2 separate regions of the Homo sapiens genome follow, and region 1 is linked to region 2. Evidence: promoter capture Hi-C in 16 types of primary human blood cells and fetal thymus (Javierre and others, 2016). All regions are on one chromosome and are shown on one strand. The core of a region is centred on a gene start or on the middle of the fragment in contact, and the rest is flanking DNA. Distances in the headings are between cores, read along the strand shown. Region 1 overlaps MISP3 (MISP family member 3). Region 2 holds the start of GIPC1 (GIPC PDZ domain containing family member 1).

What was found. Contacts are between HindIII fragments. The CHiCAGO score rates a contact against its expected background, and 5 or more counts as called.
Region 1: a contact is called between a fragment that was not itself captured here and the fragment with the promoter of GIPC1 in region 2, in 1 of 17 cell types (M0 macrophages). The highest score is 5.4, in M0 macrophages.

What each region holds. Positions count from the first base shown.
Region 1 is chr19:14,074,589-14,079,269 of GRCh38, forward strand. It overlaps MISP3 (MISP family member 3), which reads left to right. Exons shown (of 3, transcript NM_001291291.2): 3 at 118-474. The coding sequence ends at 135. Among named protein-coding and RNA genes, the nearest start is that of MIR1199, 3.6 kb to the left of the region's middle. RefSeq lists a silencer at 589-824. The HindIII fragment of the contact is 1,703 bases long and covers 2,345-4,047 here.
Region 2 is chr19:14,494,151-14,498,406 of GRCh38, forward strand. GIPC1 (GIPC PDZ domain containing family member 1) reads right to left here and starts at 1,977. Exons shown (of 9, transcript NM_005716.4): 1 at 1,887-1,977. RefSeq lists enhancers at 1,292-2,218, 3,499-3,998 and silencers at 1,881-2,110, 2,251-2,310. The HindIII fragment of the contact is 11,428 bases long and covers 1-4,256 here.

The DNA of each region.
Region 1 (4,681 bases), core at 1,946-4,445, 420 kb before region 2:
GACGCATCCCCGGGGTGAAGAGGAGACGGTGGTCTTGAGGCCCAAACCGCCACCCCGAGCCTGGATGCAGTGCGCAGGTCCCTGAGGCCGGCCTTCCTTCTGGTCCTCTGTCCCCAGGAGGAGCGCAAACCTTGAGGTTTGAAAAGGCTGGGACCCCCGGCCGGAAGTAACGTACGCGTCAGAGGAACAGGGCGGGGGGCGTCTAGCATTAGGCCTGGAGAAGGGTCGGCTCTCTGCATTGGGGAAGATGAAATCGACTTGCCTTTGTGAAATTGACCAGCCCCCTCTATAAAACTTACAGTCCCCCATTGGGAAACTGACCACCACCCACAACTCCGCCAGTGAAACTGCCCAGCCCTTCTCTGCCTAATTGCAAACTGAACTACCCTCTCCCTTGACTGTTAAGAGGGCCGGAGTTACCGCCTCGATTGCCCCACTCCCCCCACCCCCAATAAAGCCTCTTCTTTCAGGGCACTGCAGCCTGTTTTTTTCTGGGTCCTCTTCGTCTGGGGTGGGGCGGGAGCACGGCGGGCCGAGGGAGGCCCGAGAAAACCCCAAGAGGTGCGGGCCGGAATGCGGGAATGCGCCCTTACCGCCCTGCTCTGGGGCTGCCCGCCTCCCCCGGCACGGCCAGACACGGCCTGGCCCAGGTCCTACCGCCCCCTGGCGGCCCGGGCGCAAAATGTGGCGCGCTTACCGAGTTCACACCCTCTCGTTTCCAGGCTTCCTCGTCAACATTTATTGGTGCCAACGATGTGCCCTGCGCTGGGCACTGGCTAGACAGTGGTGATAAGAGGCTGTTCCTACCCTGGGAACGTAAACAATAGCTACTAAAAAAAAGAGGTGGTGAGGGTTCAGGCTTCTCAACATTATTAGTTCCTAATGATCACCGTTCTTCTTGACCTCATGGGTCCTCACTATGAGACGTGCTCATTCGTGGTGTTGGGTCAAGAGTTTCTGCTTTCCAAAAGCATCCGTGGCCGGGCGCGGTGGCTCACGCCTGTAATCCCAGCACTTTGGGAGGCCGACGTGGGTGGATCAGTTGAGGCCAGGAATTGGAGACGAGCCTGGCCAACACGGTGAAACCCCGTCTCTACTAAAAATACAAAATATTAGCCGGGCGTGGTGGTGCATGTCTGTAATCCAGCTACTCAGGAGGCTGAGGCATGAGAATCACTTGAACCCAGGAGGCGGAGGTTGCAGTGAGCCAAGAACGGGCCACTGCACTCCAGCCTGGGTGACACAGTGAGACTCTGCCTCAAAAAAATAAAAAAGGCAACTGAAACCTGGCTTTTAAGAGAGAAATCTGCATTTTTATGATTGTGACTATTTAGGAAAAACTTTTTTTTTTTTTTGAGACAGTTTTGCTCTGTCACCCAGGCTGGAGTGCAGTGGTGCGATCTCAGCTCACTACAACCTTTGCCTCCTGGGCTCAAGCAATTCTCCTGCCTAAGCCTCCCGAGTAGCTGGAATTACAGGTGCACATCACCACACCGGCTAATTTATTGTATTTTTAGTAGAGATGGGTTTTCACCATGTTGTCCAGGCTGGTCTTGAACTCCTGGCCTCAAGTGATCTGCCGGCCTCAGCCTCCCAGTTTTTTCTAGGCGCCCTGCCTAGAAAAAACTTTTAAAGTTGTGCGGGAGGAGAGGAAGGAAGGAAGTTGGCAAGCAACAACTGTTTGCAATAGGGCCTGTGGCTGTCAATTTGCAAGCTCTGGTTAATTTCTCTCCCCTGGATGGGGGTTCAAGAGGGTGGGTGAACACCCTAAATTGTCTCTAAAACTGTATCTGCACAGTTAACATTCTGGGACTATTTTTACAGTGTCTTAGAAGTGCACTGAGGGCCTGGCGCGGTGGCTCACGCCTGTAATCCCAGCACTTTGGGAGGCCAAAGCAGGTGGATCACGAGGTCAGGAGATCAAGACCATCCTGGCTAATATGGTGAAACCCCATCTCTACTAAAAATACAAAAAAAAAAAAAAAAATTAGCCGGGCGTGGTGGTGGGTGCCTGTAGTCCCAGCTACTCAGGAGGCTGAGGCAGGAGAATGGCGTGAACCCGGGAGGTGGAGGTTGCAATGACCCGAGATTGCACCACTGCACTCTAGCCTGGGTGACAGAACAAGACTCCATATTAAAAAAAAAAAAAAGAAGTGCACTGAGGACCAGACATGGTGACTCATGCCTGTAATTCTAGCACTTTGGGAGGCCAAGGCAGGAGGATTGCTTGATCCCAGGAGTTCAAGACCAGCTTGGGCAACATAGCGAGACACTGCCCCACCCCATCTCTACAAAAAATTAACCGGGTGTGGTGGCATGTGCCTGTGGTCCCAGCTACTCTGGAAGCTTAGCAGGAGATCGCCTGAGCCTGGGAGGTTGAGGCTACAGTGAGCTATGATTGAACCACTGCACTCCAGCCTGGGTGAGAGTGAGATCTGTAACCTAAGAAAAAAAAAAAATTCACTAAGACCAGAAAAGGGGAGACCCAGGAAGTTTAAATTTAAAAATGTTTTCAATTTTGGAGACAAGTCTTGTTCTGTCACGCAGGCTGCAGTGCAGTGGCATGATCACAGCTTACTGTAACCTTGATCTCCTGGGCTCAAGTGATCCTCCTGCCTCAGCCTCCTGAGTAGCTGGGACTACAGGTGTGAACCACCACACCCAACCCAGGAACATTTTAGAATCGCTGTTTCAACTCTTGGCTCTTGAGATCGTGTCACTGCACTCCAGCCTGGGTGACAGAGCGAAACTCTGTCTTAAACAAAAACAAATTCTTGGCTCTGTCCAACTCTGTCTCTTGTATAGGGGCATCAAATGTCTAGTGAAATCCATATGCATAAAATACAGAGAGGTCATGCTGATACAAGGCTGCACCCAAGAGCAGCTCAGCCCATGAAGGGCTCATCAGCTGACCCCATCCTCAGCCCAGTGACCCCATCCTCAGCATACTTCACTGTGACTGTGGGAGCTATGTAGAGAAAGGCGGAGAGAGCCTGGGAAGGTGGAAAATGGAAACACCTAGAGGCTGGTCTTAATTTCCAGCAGGGGAGCCAAGAACTAAGTATGTCATGAGTGGACAGGGGCCGGGCATGGTGGCTCATGCCTGTAATCCCAGCACTTTGGGAGGCCAAGGTGGGTGGATCACCTGAGGTCAGGAGTTTGAGACCAGCCTGGCCAACATGGTGAAAACCCATCTCCACTAAAAATACAAAAATTAGGCCTGGTGCAGTGGCTCATGCCTGTAATCCCAGCACTTTGGGAGGCTAAGGCGAGTGGATCACCTGAGGTCAGGAGTTCGAGATCAGCCTGGCCAACATGGAGAAACCCCATCTCTACTAAAAATCAAGAAATTAGCCAGGCATGGTGGCGCATGCCTGTAGTCCAAGCTACTCAAGAGACTGAGGCAGGAGAATCACTTGAACCCAGGAGGCAGAGGTTGCAGTGAGCCCTGAGATTGCACCACTGTACTCCAGCCTGGGTGACAGAGCGAGACTCCATCTCCAAAAAAAAAAGAGTGGACAGGACTACTTAAGTATAGATGAGGGATTCTCTAACTTTTCTGAATATTAAACTCAACTGAGGCCCCCATATGTCAAGTAAATCAGAATGGGGGAAGGGCTTGACATCAGTATTTTTTGAAGCTCCCAGGTGATTACAATATACAGCTGAGTCTGAGAACCATGAAGTAAATATAAACCAGCAGTTCTCAATGTAGTGGCACCAGGACCAGCAGTATCCGCAATGCTTGGGGAATTGCTAGACATGCGCCTTCCAGGGGCCAGGTGTGGTGGCTCATGCCTATAATCACAGCACTTTGGGAGGCTGAGGTGGGATAATTGCTTGAGTCTGGGAGTTCAAGACCAGTGTGGGCAATATAGCAAGACAAAGTCTCTACCAAAAAAAAAAAAGAGAGAGAGAAAAAAAAGCACTTTCTTGGGTCTCATCCCAGACTTAATGATCAAACTCTCCATGTGATTCTGATGCACACTAGGAAGTTTGAGAATCAAGGGTGTAGAAAGCTGCTCAGCAACAGGACCCAGGAAACAAAGCTTGTTTCCTTCCCCTTCCAGTACTGTACTGTCACCACCCACCCGAAACCCTGTCTTAAGAGACAGTGGATTTGACTTAAAGGAGACCGTCTAGAGCTGCTTGTGGCTAGTCTGAATTGAGATATGTTGTAAATGTGAAATGCTAGATTTCTTTTCCTTTTTTTTTTTTTTTTTTTTTTTGAGATGGAGTCTTGCTCTTGTTGCCCAGGCTGGAGTGCAATGGCACGATCTCGGCTCACTGCAACCTCCATCTCCTGGGCTCAAGCGGTTCTCCTGCCTCAGCCTCCAGAGTAGCTGAGATTACCAGCACCTGCCACCATGCCCGGCTAATTTTTGTAGTTTTAGTAGAGATGGGGTTTCGCCATGTTGGCCAGGCTGGTCTCAAACTCCTGACCTCATGATCTGCCTGCCTCGGCCTCCCAAAGTGCTGGGATTACAGGTGTGAGCCACTGCATCTGGCTTTTTTTTTTTTTTTTCAGATGGAGTCTCGCTCTGTTGCGCAGGCTGGAGTGTAGTGGTGCGATCTCGGCTCACTGCAACCTCCATCTCCCAGATTTAAGCGAGTCTCCTGGCTCAGCCTCTTGAATAGCTGGGATCACAGGCGCCCACCACCACACCCACCTTTTTTTTTT
Region 2 (4,256 bases), core at 727-3,226:
GGTTTCACCATGTTGATCAGGCTGGTCTCAAACTCCTGACCTCTTGACCCACCTGTCTCAGCCTCCCAAAGTGCTGGGATTACAGGGGTGAGCCATGCCCCTAGCCAATTTTTGTATTTTTAGTAGAGACAGGGTTTCCCCATGTTGGCCAGGCTGGTCTCAAACTCCTGACCTCAAGCAACCCACCCGCCTCGGCCTCCCAAAGTGCTGGGATTACAGGCGTGAGCCACCGCGCCCGGGCCCCCTTGCCTGATCTTTGCTGGGCTGGCACCCCTTGCCCACAACTACTCTCTACAGTACCACCCGCTCATATTTTATTCATAGCAGTTAGTGCCATCTGAAATTATCTTCTTTATTTACTTGCTAACTTGTTTGTTGGCTGCTTCCTTCCTTTCAGAGTGCCAACTCCTCAAAAGTAGGGATTTTGTTTTGTTCACTGTTGCATTTTCTGTGCCAAGAACAGTGCCTAGCACATGCACGTAGCAGGTGCTCACTAAATATTTGTAGACTGAGTGAATGAATGTGTCTCAGGTCCTCGTTCTGATTGCTCTCTGTGCTCCCCATCCTTGAAACAGCCCCCTAAACATGCCTGCTGTGCGGTTGCCAACTGTCCTAGGCTCCCCACTTTCCCTGGCTCCCCTCACACCTGAACACAGAGATGAAGAGCCACTTCAGCCCGGATATTGAGTGTTTGGGCTGGAATTTCAGCATCCTCACCCCCTCATCCTGGGAAGGGCCTGAAACTTAGCAACCCCACGGCCACACAGAAGCAGTGTGGCCAGCAGGAGGAGGGGAAGGGGGTTCCTGGGAGCACACAGAAGCTAGGGGAAGGGGGAAACCACGCCCAGGCTCCCCGTTCCAGCACAGTGTTGCTTTGGAGAGAAGGAGGGAAAGAGGCCTCTGATTCACTCTTGAAAAACCGGCTCCTGGGTGTTTCCGGGGAGAACGCCTACTTCCCAGCCTCGGCCCAGGTTGCCAGGGGGGAACCCAGTGGGCCCAGACCCCAGCATCCTGGCCCCCTGCAGACGCCACTCTCTTCTCTGGACCCAGGTAGTTAGACCTGCCCTCTCCAGCTCTGGGGAGAAGGGAAAGGAGGGCAGCTTCCTGTTTGAGTGGCTGGTAAAGCAAAAGACCAGCAGGTGTGGCCCTGATGATGAGTACGGGGTAGGGGGTGGGAGGGGTAGGGGGCCGGAGCTACTCAGCAACAACTGAGCCGTGGAGTTATTGGTATCCAGTCTAGTGGGTGTGACTCCAGTTCTGGACCCTGGGGCATGAGTTCCAGTCCCAGATGTGCCAGTTACTAGCTGTGTGACCTTGGGCAAGTCACTCCACCTCTCTGGGTAGGCTGCCTCACCTTTTTTACAAGAAGGCACAGCACCTCCCATGAGGTGTTTAGAGTCAATTATCCTCATGGTAAATGCCTGACACGGAAGCTCTCCAATAAATGCTAGCTGAGGTGGAGTTTTTCATGACGATTATTATTCAGACCGTGGTCCTCACTGCGTCCCCCCCAAGGCCCTGGAGGGTTCAGACGCGGTTAGCTCAGGGGAAGTGCCCAGGAAAGGGTCAGAAACACTGACCCCGCGCCTGTCCACGCTGGGATGGGGACAGTCCAGCCGGGGGACGGGGGGAGGGGCAAGCCCAGAAACCCCAGCCCAGCGTTGGGAGGCGTTTGTCCCCTGCCCGCCAGCAGGAAGGGAGCTGCCCCCACCACCCCCCACCCCCGCTTCCCCTGGGAAGGGGCCTCCGGCATCCCCGCGCGCAGCCTAGACCTCCAGTCGCGTCCACGGCGCCGGCCCCACCCTGCAGGATCGGCCGGATCCTCGCAGGCCCGCGACCCCCGAGGCCCCCGGAGCAGACACATCCTTCTCGCAGAGGCCACTCACCTGCTCCGCCGCCGCCGCCGCCGCCGCCGCCGCCGCCGCTGCCTCCGCCTCCCCGTGCGCACCCGGCTCGGCCCTCCGCAAACTCCAGACCGGGCCTCTCCCGCAGCGGCGCCTGGGGGGCGGGGCCGACGCCCGCGGCCGGCCAATCAGCGGCTGCCTCTCGGTGCTCGCAGCCAATCCGCGTCTTCCGCTTCGGGTGGACCCGACGGAAACATTCCAGAGGGATCCCTCCGCCTCGCCCGGCTCTTCCCGACTCCTCCCCTCGCCGCGAAGCAGTGGACCGTTCCGCCCCGCCTAAGCCGCGGCTGGCTGTACCACCGGAGGGCTGAGGAGGGGGGGGAGCTGCAGCTGGGCCCCGGCCAATCGCGAGGGAGGAAGGAGACAAGCGGCCAATGGGAAGGAAGCTGGGGCCCCTGAACCACGTGCTGTCGGCTGAGTGTCAGTCTCGGGTGCCCTGGGTGGTGAGGGGCGGGGGAGTCAGGTGACCTAGGCCAGGTTTCGGGGAAAGGATTCGAACTTCCGACGTCCAGGAAAGCGGACAGTTTAGGAGACCTGGGTGGGGGTCAATGGCAGTCCCCAACCCAGTTCCCTGCCCGGCCTCCTCTGCCCCAGCCTGGCCATCCTCGGAGCGGATAAAAAGATGCATTCAATCTCTGGGGGCGGGCGGGGGATCGAGATGAATAGGGAGGGTCCCGAGTTTCCCTGCTTCCTGGGCTGTACAATGGACAAAGGCATTCATTCATTCATTCGTTCACTCACTCATCAAATATTTAATGTGCCAGACTGCTCCGTGCCAGACTCTGTCCTACCTCTGAAGACGCGTCAGTGAATAAGCTGAATGTGCTCCTGGTAGAGGTAACAGAGCGTGCAAAAGCCGGACAGAGAGATACAGCACGCTTTAGGATACTGCAATATCGTGGGAGCTAGTAAATCAGTGTGGAAAGGCAAGATGCAATGAAAGACAAGGGTGAGATAGTTTATCTGCTTGTTGGTTTGTTTATGTGCTAGGTCACAGAAGGTACCCAGCCAGCCTTTCATAGATCTGTCTCCTCCATCTGACTGTGAGGGTGGAGGCTGAGTCTCTCTTGTCAACCCCTCACTCCCACCTCAGGCTGCCACACGGCAGGTTCTCAGCAAACCTGTGTGGACAAATAGACCATGTAGTTTATAAGGAAGGGGGATTTATCAGGTGGACACAGATCCAAGAAACAAGAGTCACAAATGCACCTGGACCAGGCCAGGACGCTCAGTTCCCGGGACAAGTGAGATTTCCTTGTTCTAGTTCAAACCCAGCCACTTGGACAGCAACTGGGGCTGAATGCTGTGTGTTCTGGGAACTGTAGTTCCTGGAAGCCTCTAAGTGCTGAGACCCTGCTCAAGCTCCATAGAAAGACTGGTTCTTTGCAGTTCCCAGGGTGAGATGTTGTGCATATCAGTCCCACCAGGACCTGCAGAGGGGCAAACTAAAATGGGAGATGGAACCTTGAGCTTTGCTGCTGAGGATTGCCTAGCCAGCCCCACCCAGCTGGCAAACACCGAGATTGCTGTGGCAGGCCAGGCAACAGGCACAGCTATTGTCCGTCCCTTCCTGTTCTGCTGACCTCTGCCATCCCACTGAGCAATCAGTTGCCTGGGCTGGCCAGTACCCTCTGTGGGACTGTGCTGCCTGCCCTGCTTGAGCCTGGCATCTAAGCTGCCCCCTGCACACTTGGAGAGGACGGGATGCTGAGCCCAGGGGACAGCATGACTGAGGCTGCAGAGTCCTGAGCCAGACTCCAACTGGCTCCTGTTTCCTGATGAGGAAGTGCCCGGAGAAGGGGTGATGGGATTGTGGGATTGCTCAAGACACAGAGCAGCACTGGGCACCTCCTTTCTGAATTTTTTTTTTTTTTTTTTTGAGACAGTGTCTAGCTCCGTTGGCCAGGCTGGAATGCAGTGGCAGGATCTCAGCTCACTGCAACCTCCACCTCCTAGGCTCAAGTAATCCTCCCATCTTAGCCTACCGAGTAGCTGGGACCACAGGCATGTACCACCACACCTGGCTAATTTTTGTTGTTGTTGTTGTTTGTTTGTTTGTTTTTTTGAGACGGAGCCTCACTCTGTCACCCAGGCTGCAGTGCAGTGGTGCAATCTCAGCTTACTGCAACCTCCGCTTCTCAGGTTCGAGCAATTCTCACGCCTCAGTCTCCTGAGTAGCTGGGATTACAGCGTGCGCCATCATGCTCGGCTAAATTTTTTGTATTTTTAAAAGAGACGGGGTTTCGCCATGTTGGCCAGGCTGGTCTCGAACTCCTGGCCTCAAGTGATCCACCTGCCTCGTCCTCCTGAAATGCTGGGATTACAGGCATGAGCCACTGCACGCAGTCTATT